Linked DNA regions of Homo sapiens: region 1 is linked to region 2. Evidence: promoter capture Hi-C in 16 types of primary human blood cells and fetal thymus (Javierre and others, 2016). All regions are on one chromosome and are shown on one strand. Each heading gives the region's core, a stretch centred on a gene start or on the middle of the fragment in contact. The rest is flanking DNA. Distances are from core to core; before and after follow the strand shown.

Region 1 (4,656 bases), core at 1,407-3,906, 220 kb after region 2:
CAGTTTTCAGGGATTCAGATCTGAATATCTTTGGGGGCCATCATTCAGCCTACCACAAGTACAGAGTAGGATGCAGCCCTCAGATTTGAAACTATGTAATGATCCTAGGTGATGATGTGATGACCGGGATCTGCATGGACTCCCTGATACAGGCACAGATAGTCAAAACATCCATGAAAACATCATCTTTGCTACTAGGACCCTGTTAGAGGCAGAAACTAGCATGACAGATTTTCCCCCAAGTGGAATAGTAAAATATACCCAAAATATCCTAATACTCTGGGCCATGATCCTATGATTTTTTTTTTTCCAACGGCTTGATTGAAGTTTAATGTATACACCATAAAACTCATCCATTGTGAGTACACAATTCGATTATTTTTAGTAAGTTTATAGTTATGCAATTATTACAACAATCCAGATTTAGAATATTTTCATCACCCCAAAAAGTTCCCTCATGGTTATCTGCAGTTGGTTCCTACTACCAGATCCAGCCCAGGCAGCCACTGGTCTACTTTCTCTGTATAGATTTGTCTTTTCTGTACCCTTTATATAAATGGATCATACAATATGGCCGGGCGTGGTGGCTCACGACTATAATCCCAGCACTTTGGGAGGCTGAGGTGGGCGGATCACTTGAGGTCAGGAGTTTGAGACCAGCCTGGCCAACATGGCGAAGCCCCATCTCTACAAAAAATACAAAAATTAGCTGGGTGTGGTGGCGCATGCCTGTAATCCCAGCTACTCGGGAGGTTGAGGCAGGAGAATAGCTTGAATGTGGAATGCAGAGGTTGCACTGAGCCGAGATCACGCCACTGCACTCCAGCCGGGGCAACAGAGTGAGACTCTGTCTCAAAAAAGTAAAATAAAATAAACAAAATAAACAAACAAAACATATATATAAGTAAATGGGATCAACAATATGTAGTCTTTATGTCTGGCTTTCACTTAGTATAATATGTTTTTGAGGTTCTTCTGTGTCACAGTGTATATTAGTAGTTCCTTCTTTTTCATCTTTTTTAAATTATTATTATTGTAGAGATAGGGTCTCTCTATGTTGCCCAGGTTGGTCTTGAACTCCTGGGTTCAAGGGATCTTCCCACCCCAGCATCCCAAAGTGCCGGGATTATACGCATGAGCTTCCACGCCTGACCTTTTTACTAAAAAGTAGTTCCTTTTTGGCCGAGCGCGGTGGCTCACGCCTGTAATCCCAGCACTTTGGGAGGCCGAGGCACGCAGATCACGAGGTCAGGAGATCGAGACCATCCTGGCTAACACGGTGAAACCCCGTCTCTACTAAAAATACAAAAAATTAGCCCGGCGTGGCGGCGGGCGCCTGTAGTCCCAGCTACTCGGGAGGCTGAGGCAGGAGAATGACGTGAACCCGGGAGGCGGAGCTTGCAGTGAGCCGAGGTCGCGCCACTACACTCCAGCCTGGGTGACAGCGAGACTCTGTCTCAAAAAAAAAAAAAAAATTAGCCGGGCGTGGTGGCGGGCGCCTGTAATCCCAGCCACTCAGGAGGCTGAGGCAGTAGAATTGCTTGAATCCGGGAGGCAGAGGTTGCAGTGAGCCAAGATCGCGCCACTGCACTCCAGCCTGGCGACAGAGCAAGACTCCATCTCAAAAAAAAAAAAAAAAAGCAGTTCCTTTTCATTGCTGTGTTCTGTCGTGTGAATATACCACATTACCACATTTTGTTGATCCATTAACCTGTTTATGGATATTTGGACTGTTTCCTGTTTGGGGTTATTATGAATAGTGCTGCTCTGAATATTCATGTACAAGTCTTTGTGGACATATGTTTTCATTTCTTTTGGGTAGATACCTAGGAATGGTAAGTTTTTCGTTTTAACTTTTTAAGAAACTGCCAAACTGTTCTTCGAAGTGGCTGTAACATTTTACATTCTCTTTTTCTTTTCCTTTTTTCTTTTTTTTTTTTTTTTTTTTTTTTTGAGACAGGGTCTCCCTCTGTCGCCCAGGCTGAAGTGCAGTGACACAATTTCAGCTCACTGCAACCTCTGCCACCTGGGCTCAACTGATTCTCCTGCCTCAACCTCCCGAATATCTGAGACTATCATGCGCCCCCACACCCGGCTAATTTTTTTGTATTTTTAGTAGAGACATGGTTTCACCATGTGGGCCAGGCTGGTCTCAAACTCCTGACCTCAAGTGATCCACCCACCTCAGCCTCCCAAAGTGCTGGGATTACAAGCATAAGCCACTGTGCCTAGCCCATTTTACATTCTCATCAGAAATGTATGAGGTATCTGGTTTCTCCACATCCTTACCAACACTGTATTAAATATCTTTTCCCACTGAATTGCCTTGGCCAAAAATAAGTAGACCTTACATGTGAGGTCTGAGCTCTAAATTCTAGTCCATTGGCCTGTATGTCTATCCTTATGCCAATACCACATTGTTTTGATTACTGTAGCTTTGTAGTAAGTTTTGAAATCAGAAAGTGTGAGTCCTCCAGTTTTGTTATTTTCCAAGATCATTTTCACTATTCCAGATCCTTTGCATTTCCATATTAATTTTAGAATAAGCTTGTCAATTTCAGCAAAAATGGCAACCAAGATTTTGATAGGTATTGAAAGGGGAAAACAAACAGGTTTTCTATACTCAAAAACACTTCCGAAACCAAATGTCTGGGATTTTTTTCCCCGCACATCAAGCAATTCTTCAGTTCTCTGCAAACATCAACTGGGTGTCCAATGACTCAATTCAACTCTGACAGTAGCTACCTGGAGTTAGTGTGAGACCCCAAAGCTTAAGGGCTCAGTCCCACAATACTGCCCCTGACTTCAAATGCCAATCTCAAGTAATGGGTCCCCAGGTTACCCACACTTCTGTGTGACTTAGCTACAAGTGAGGGTTTCCTACAACCACCTATTCAGATTCAATAATCTGCTGTAATGGCTCGCAGAACTCAGGGAAGCACTTACATGTACGGTTTATTATAAAGGATACAACTCAGGAACAGCCAAATGGAAGAGACAGGGTATGAGGAGGGAGGGGCACAGAGCTTCCATAGCCTTTCAGGCCTCGCACCCTCCCAGCACCTTAATGTGTTCACCAACCTGGAAGATCTCCAAACCCTGTCATTTAGGGTTTTTATGGAAGTCCCATTATGTAGGCATGATTTATTAAATCATTGACCTTCTGTGACTGACATTAATCTTCAGCCCTTCTCCCCTCCCCAGAGGTCAAAGAGATGGGGCTGAAAATTCCAACCCTCTAATTACAAGGTTGGTTCCTCTGTCAACCAGCCCCCATCCTCCAAGAGTCACCTCATTAGCATAAACCCAGGTATGGTTGAAAGGGGCTTATTATGAATAACCAAAGGTGTTCCTCTCACCCCTATCACTCAGGGGAATCACAAGACTTTTAGCAGCTCTGTGCTAGGAACCCGGGGAAGAGACCAAATATATATTTCTTGTTATGTCACAGGATTGCATTAAATTTGCAGATCCATTTGGGCAATATTACAATATTGCTATCTTAACAATAATAGTTTATCTGTTTTGTTTTGTTTTTAGAGATGGGTCTTGCTATGTTGCCCAGGCTGGCTCAAGCAATCCTCCTGCCTTGGCCTCTCTAAGTGCTGAGATTACAGGCGACAACAGTAGTTTGTTGTTGTTTCTATATACAGGATCACGTCATCTGTGGGAAAAAAAGACAGTTTTACTTCTTTTCCAATGTTGATGCCTTTATTCTTATTTTTTGGCCTTATCACACTGACTTGAATCTCCAGGACAATGTTGATTGAAAGTGGCAAGAGCTGACATTCTTGCCTTGTTCCTGATCTCAAGGAGAAACATTCAGTCTTGCATCATTATATGTAATGTTGATGGTAGGTTTCAGTTAGATATGCTTTATCAAGTTAAGAGAGCTCCCTTTTATTCCAAGTTCAAGGGTTTTTTTTTAACCATCAATGGATGTTGGATTTTGTCAAATGTTTTTTCTGCATCTGTTGAGATCATATGATTTTGTCCTTTATTTTATTAATACAGTGATTCATCTTAATTGGTTTTCAGATGTTAACTCAACCTTGCTTTCCTGGGATAAAGCCCACTTGGTCATGGTATACGCTTCTATGTATGTGTTGCTGGGTTTTATTTGCTAATTTTGTGCTAAGGATTTTTACATCTGTGTTCAAAAAGGATGTTGGTCTGTAGCTTTCTTTTCATATGATATCTTTGTCTTGAATCAGGGTAATACTGGCCTCACAGAATGAGTTCGGAAGTGTACTTTCTTCCCCTATTTTCTGAAATAATTTGTGAAAGATTGGTATTATGTGTTTTTAAATTATTTGATAGAATTCACTAGTAAAGTGTTCTGTGACTGGGTTTTTCTTTGTGGGGAGATTTTAAGTACTAATCCCATTATTTACTTGCTATAGGCCTATTCAGACTTTATTTCTTCTTGAGTCAGTTTTAATAATCTGTATCTTTCTGGGAATTTGTCCATTTCATCCAAATTGTTCAATTTGTAATATTTCCTTGTAATTATTTTTGTTTCTGTGTGGTCAGTAGTGATTTTGTAATTTATGTTTTCTCTTTCTCTTGGTCAGTCTAGCTAAAAATTTCTCAATTTTGTTAACCTTTTCAAAAAACAGACCTTTTGTTTTATTGATTTTTCTCTATCATTTTTCT
Region 2 (4,634 bases), core at 1,958-4,457:
CAGGAGATGGGACCTCCAGGAAACTGGTGGGAGGCTGGACAGGGGCAAAGTGAAAGGTAAGCAGCCTGAAGATGGGTGGGATGTAGTGGACTCCAGCGTGAAGAGCCTCCAGTCTCTGGCAGAGCTCAGCAGCTTGGGTGGGAGGAAACGAAGGGCAGGGAGCAGAAGGTGGTGGGGGGAACGGGTTTTGGTTAAGATGGGCAGCTGTCCAGTGGTGAAGAGGGGAAGTATTTGTGTATACGATCAGTTGTGGGGGATGGTGGTAGAGGGAGCAGTATGAGAGTCTGGGAGGAACAGGGCAGGGGAGATGGCACAGGAGAAGATTGGGGTGGGGGTGGGGGCACTGATACTGAATCCAGTACACAGAGGCAGGCTTAGAGACCCCCTGAGGGTGACAAATTCTTCTCTTAACTTGCTGCAGAGGAAACGACAAGAGAATAGGTCCTAAGAGGAGTGAAAATAGAGGAAACTGGCCAAGGGATAAAGATAAGCAGAGCTATGGAAGAAAAGGAAGAAAATTAGGGAATTACTGGAGAGGAAGCTGACAGAAAGGGGCGCTGGGAGAGGAAAAGGTGAGGGAGGACGAAAACGGAACTCCTATCACCCAGCGCATTCCAGCACCCCCTCCCCCTCCCCCGGGAAGTCTGCGACTGCATCCTCACAGGGATGGAATGGGAGTGGAAGCTAGGCCAGGCTGGGACCCCGGGGCTGTCCCAGCCCAACCAAGACGGTGACCAGACTCAAGTTACTGATCCTCCGCTGTTTCTTCATCTGTAAAGTGGAGTTAATGACAGACAGCTGGATGTCAACGTTTTTTGTTGTTTGTTTTAGAGATGGGATCTCCCTGTATCGCCCAGGCTGGAGTGCAGCGGTATGATCACGGCTCACTGCAGCCTCGACCTCCTGGGCTCGAGAGATCTTCCTGTCTCAGCCTCCCGAGTAGAAATGTCAGCATTTGAATGCCTCACAAGGGAAGGTGGTGTAATAAAAGGTCTATTGATTTAGATATGAACAAGTATACCCAGAGCCACACGAATGAAAGGAGGTGGCCAGTGTAGATGCAAGTCTAGGACGGTCGGTAGATTCCAAGCTTCTCTACCTGCCCAGTTAAACAAGTTCGTGGCCCCTGGCCAGCCTCTCGGTGGGGGTCTGCGACAGAACGGGTGGGATTCATTACCAGGCTAGGAGCGCAAGGCCCTCGGGCCGGGTTCAGCTTGCTGGGCTCCTGTCTTGTCTCAGCCCCCAGCACTTGCTCTGTCACCGCAGAGCACAGGCCCAGGCAACGTTTACCCAACTGAACCCGCATCCCTGTGGGAACCTTGTTCCAACAAAATCCCGTCGTTGTCTCCTTCCATATGGAACGAAAATCTCCTTCTGTACCTCTGCCCAGCTCCGCACCCCCGCCCCCTTAGAGATACGGCCTGGTCGGGTCCTGGTCCCCCCCTCGGCGGCGCTTCCACTTTTCCCAGACTGAGGGTGGGGAAAAGGAGGAGGGGGAAGAAATCAGAGGAGGAAAAGTCGGGAGGTAGGGGAGCCGGGAGACAGGAGAGGGGGAAAATAAAGAGCCTGAGACACAAACGAGAGGAAAAGACCATCACAGAAAGCTGGAAATCTCCGGAGAGGCCAGCGAGAACCCGCGCTCCCCACGGATTCCATCATTCCTTCCGAAGGCGCCTCTGCGGTGTCTCAGCCGTGCCAGGCCCCGGGGTTCCCAGGACGCGGAGGAGTGCTGGGTGCGGCCGCCTCGCCTCCCCACCCCTGGCCGCCCCTCCCCACCTCGCCCAAGGGGGCCGGAACGGCGTCGGCGCGCGGGGGCTTTTCGGAGCAGTCGAGTGGAAAATAGACTTTAACCCGCTTTGTGGCGGCCGGGGCGCCCTGAGCGCTCTCCAAACCACGGCTCCCGGCGCTCAGGCGGGCCGCTGCCAAGACCCGGCCTGGAGTCCCCGCAGAGTTGCGCGGCGCACGGACCCCGTGGCCTTGGGGCGTCAGGAGGCCCAACCCAGATCTGCGCGCCCAGGCAGCGCTCAGGCCGCTAGAATGGACCCCGGCAGCGGCGAGGAAGCGGAACTCTCTGCGGCTCCCTCTCCGCAGTGCGCCGGCAAGGTCCAGGTCCCAGCCTCCCCACCGCCGCCCGCGCCCTCCTAGGCCTCGGAGCGGCGCCTTTCTGCGGCCTCGAAGGTGGGGTGGGAAAGTTTGGGGAGTCCCGGCTCTCACAGCCTGTCGTGAGAACTGCCCCCGGGGAATTCGTCCGCCGTACGGAAAAACTGGCCGGAGCAGAGTCGTCCGCGGTTCCGCGGTCGCGGGTGGAAGGTGAAGGTCGAGGGAGGTCAGGCTGCTTCTGCGTGTCCTGACGGCTGGCGTGTTCTCTTGAGATGGGCTCGGGCTACTTGGCCAGCTTCAATTTAAGCCACAGTGTCTCCGAGGCCCTGACCTGGTCCGGCCCGCCGACACTTGAGCCCCCAGAGCCTCAGAGAAGGCGAGGGGGTGGATCTCCCAGTGCCGAGGCCCGCCGTCCTGGTCCAAGCCGGTCGCGGCACCGTGTCTGGGCACTGGAGCTGCTTCCAGCCCCGCGAACAGCTGGAGGGTGGCAGTGGGACCGCTCCGGCGGCTTCTCCCGCGCAGTGCCCCGCCTGGCCCCTTGTGAAGGGAGTGAGCGTCCCCTTTCCAGAGCTGTCCCCCGTGACATCCAGAAAACGCGAAACCTCAGGAACAAGGTCGCAGCTTCAGACCGCGGCCCAGGAGGCCGATGGTGGGTGAGTGGGAGAGTCCCGGAGAGCAGGGGGGCAGAGAGCTGGTTTTCGGGAAAACCAATGTGTTGGACCCCAAACATCCACCCTCCGCTCGGATCCAAGTTCTCTGAGAACTGAAACGACATCCCGGGACGAATGGGAGAGTTAGGCTGAGCTACACACCGGGGAGGGGAGGGTTGGAGTTTAGCCCCAAGCCCTTCGGACGCCTTCTTCGGCTCCCGCGTGGGTTGAGACGGCGGCACGGCCACCAGACTCAGCTAAAGGGCGGAGTCGCGAGGAGAAGCCAGTGGCGAGGGGAGGAGGAGGCCTGGATCTCCCCGCGAAGGCTCCAGTCCGGCTTTTGCCTCCGACTGCGGGCTCCCTCCCCACCCGCCGTCCCTCGCCCCGCCCCGCCCCGCCCCCCACCTTGGGGCAGGTGAGCGGCGGCCAATGGGCGAGCGCGGGGCAGGTGCCCGCTAACTCGCGCCTCGCAGCGCTGGGCGGCCGGGGCTGGGCAGGGCAGTGCGGGGACACCGGGGGCTGGGGTCGGTCCCAGCGGGACTCCGAAAGGAGGGAGACGAGCTCAACCCTCGGGCCTTACTGGCAGCTCGCAGCCTAGCACGGAGCCCGCGCCTGTGCGGGCGCCTGGAGCTGCCCGCTCCGCCGCAGCAGCCGCCGCGCCTGGCCGTACGCTGTGGCCGGACCCCGCGGTCGCTCGCTCACACACCCCTCGCCGCTCCGCGCCTGGCTCGCCCGCGGGGGCCGAGCGCGAGCGGGCGGGCGGGGGAGGTGAGGGGTGCGGGCGGGTGTGCATGTGCCTGGCTGGGTGCACACCCCGCAAGGCGGCGGCGCCAGGACGCGGAGCGCTCCCCAGAGCCCGGCTGCCTCGCACAGCTCCCGCGGCTGCGACCATGTTCCAGCCCGCGGCCAAGCGCGGCTTTACCATAGAGTCCTTGGTGGCCAAGGACGGCGGCACCGGCGGGGGCACTGGCGGCGGGGGCGCGGGCTCCCATCTCCTGGCGGCGGCCGCCTCCGAGGAACCGCTCCGGCCCACGGCGCTCAACTACCCTCACCCCAGCGCGGCCGAGGCGGCCTTCGTGAGTGGCTTCCCTGCCGCGGCCGCCGCGGGCGCGGGCCGCTCGCTCTACGGTGGGCCCGAGCTCGTGTTCCCCGAGGCCATGAACCACCCCGCGCTGACCGTGCATCCGGCGCACCAGCTGGGCGCCTCCCCGCTGCAGCCCCCGCACTCCTTCTTCGGCGCCCAGCACCGGGACCCTCTCCATTTCTACCCCTGGGTCCTGCGGAACCGCTTCTTCGGCCACCGCTTCCAGGGTGAGTGTCCACGCTGTGCCCGCCGAGGCGGCCGGCCGGCGCCCGTGCTGCGGCGATGCGGGGGAGGCTCGGGGGCGCGCGGGGCTGTTTAGAAGTTACTGCCGGGAAGGCTGCAGGTCCGCGGAGGTAGATTCCCAGGCAGGGAAGAGCTGTGCGGCATCCACCCGCGCCTTCGCCGCGTAGGTCTCCCTCCCAGGAAAGCAGGTGGAGACCTCCAGGCTTTTCTAGAAAATATACCAGTTCGGACGCAAGCCCAGGCGCGTCCTCGGAGCCTGTGCTGGCCCTCGCCACAGCCTGCCCAATTCTCTCTCCCAGCTGAGCCAGTCTCAGACCAGAGTACAACTCCTCCCGCTCTCCCTCCGCCCGGCTTAACCTCGCACCACGCTTCTCTCGCAAGTCCACCACCACCTCCGAGACCTCAGCCTTCGCTGGCGCGTCCGGGCGGGGGAAAGTCCATTCGCGTGCCCCAGCTCTGGGGGAAGCAAGGGCAGCAGGGAGGGCGAATCGGAGAGTTAATGTTCAGTGTGGAGGGCCTGGCTGTCTTGGGATGTTTCTCGGCAACCTTGGCCCGAC

Evidence for each region. Contacts are between HindIII fragments. The CHiCAGO score rates a contact against its expected background, and 5 or more counts as called.
Region 1: a contact is called between a fragment that was not itself captured here and the fragment with the promoter of EMX1 in region 2, in 1 of 17 cell types (endothelial precursors). The highest score is 5.0, in endothelial precursors.

The regions. Positions count from the first base shown.
Region 1 is chr2:73,135,840-73,140,495 of GRCh38, forward strand. No RefSeq gene overlaps it. Among named protein-coding and RNA genes, the nearest start is that of RAB11FIP5, 25 kb to the left of the region's middle. The HindIII fragment of the contact is 223 bases long and covers 2,546-2,768 here.
Region 2 is chr2:72,914,312-72,918,945 of GRCh38, forward strand. EMX1 (empty spiracles homeobox 1) reads left to right here and starts at 3,208. Exons shown (of 3, transcript NM_004097.3): 1 at 3,208-4,061. The coding sequence starts at 3,542. RefSeq lists silencers at 1,694-1,863, 3,004-3,423, 3,494-3,613 and enhancers at 1,955-2,572, 2,573-3,189. The HindIII fragment of the contact is 6,474 bases long and covers 1,089-4,634 here.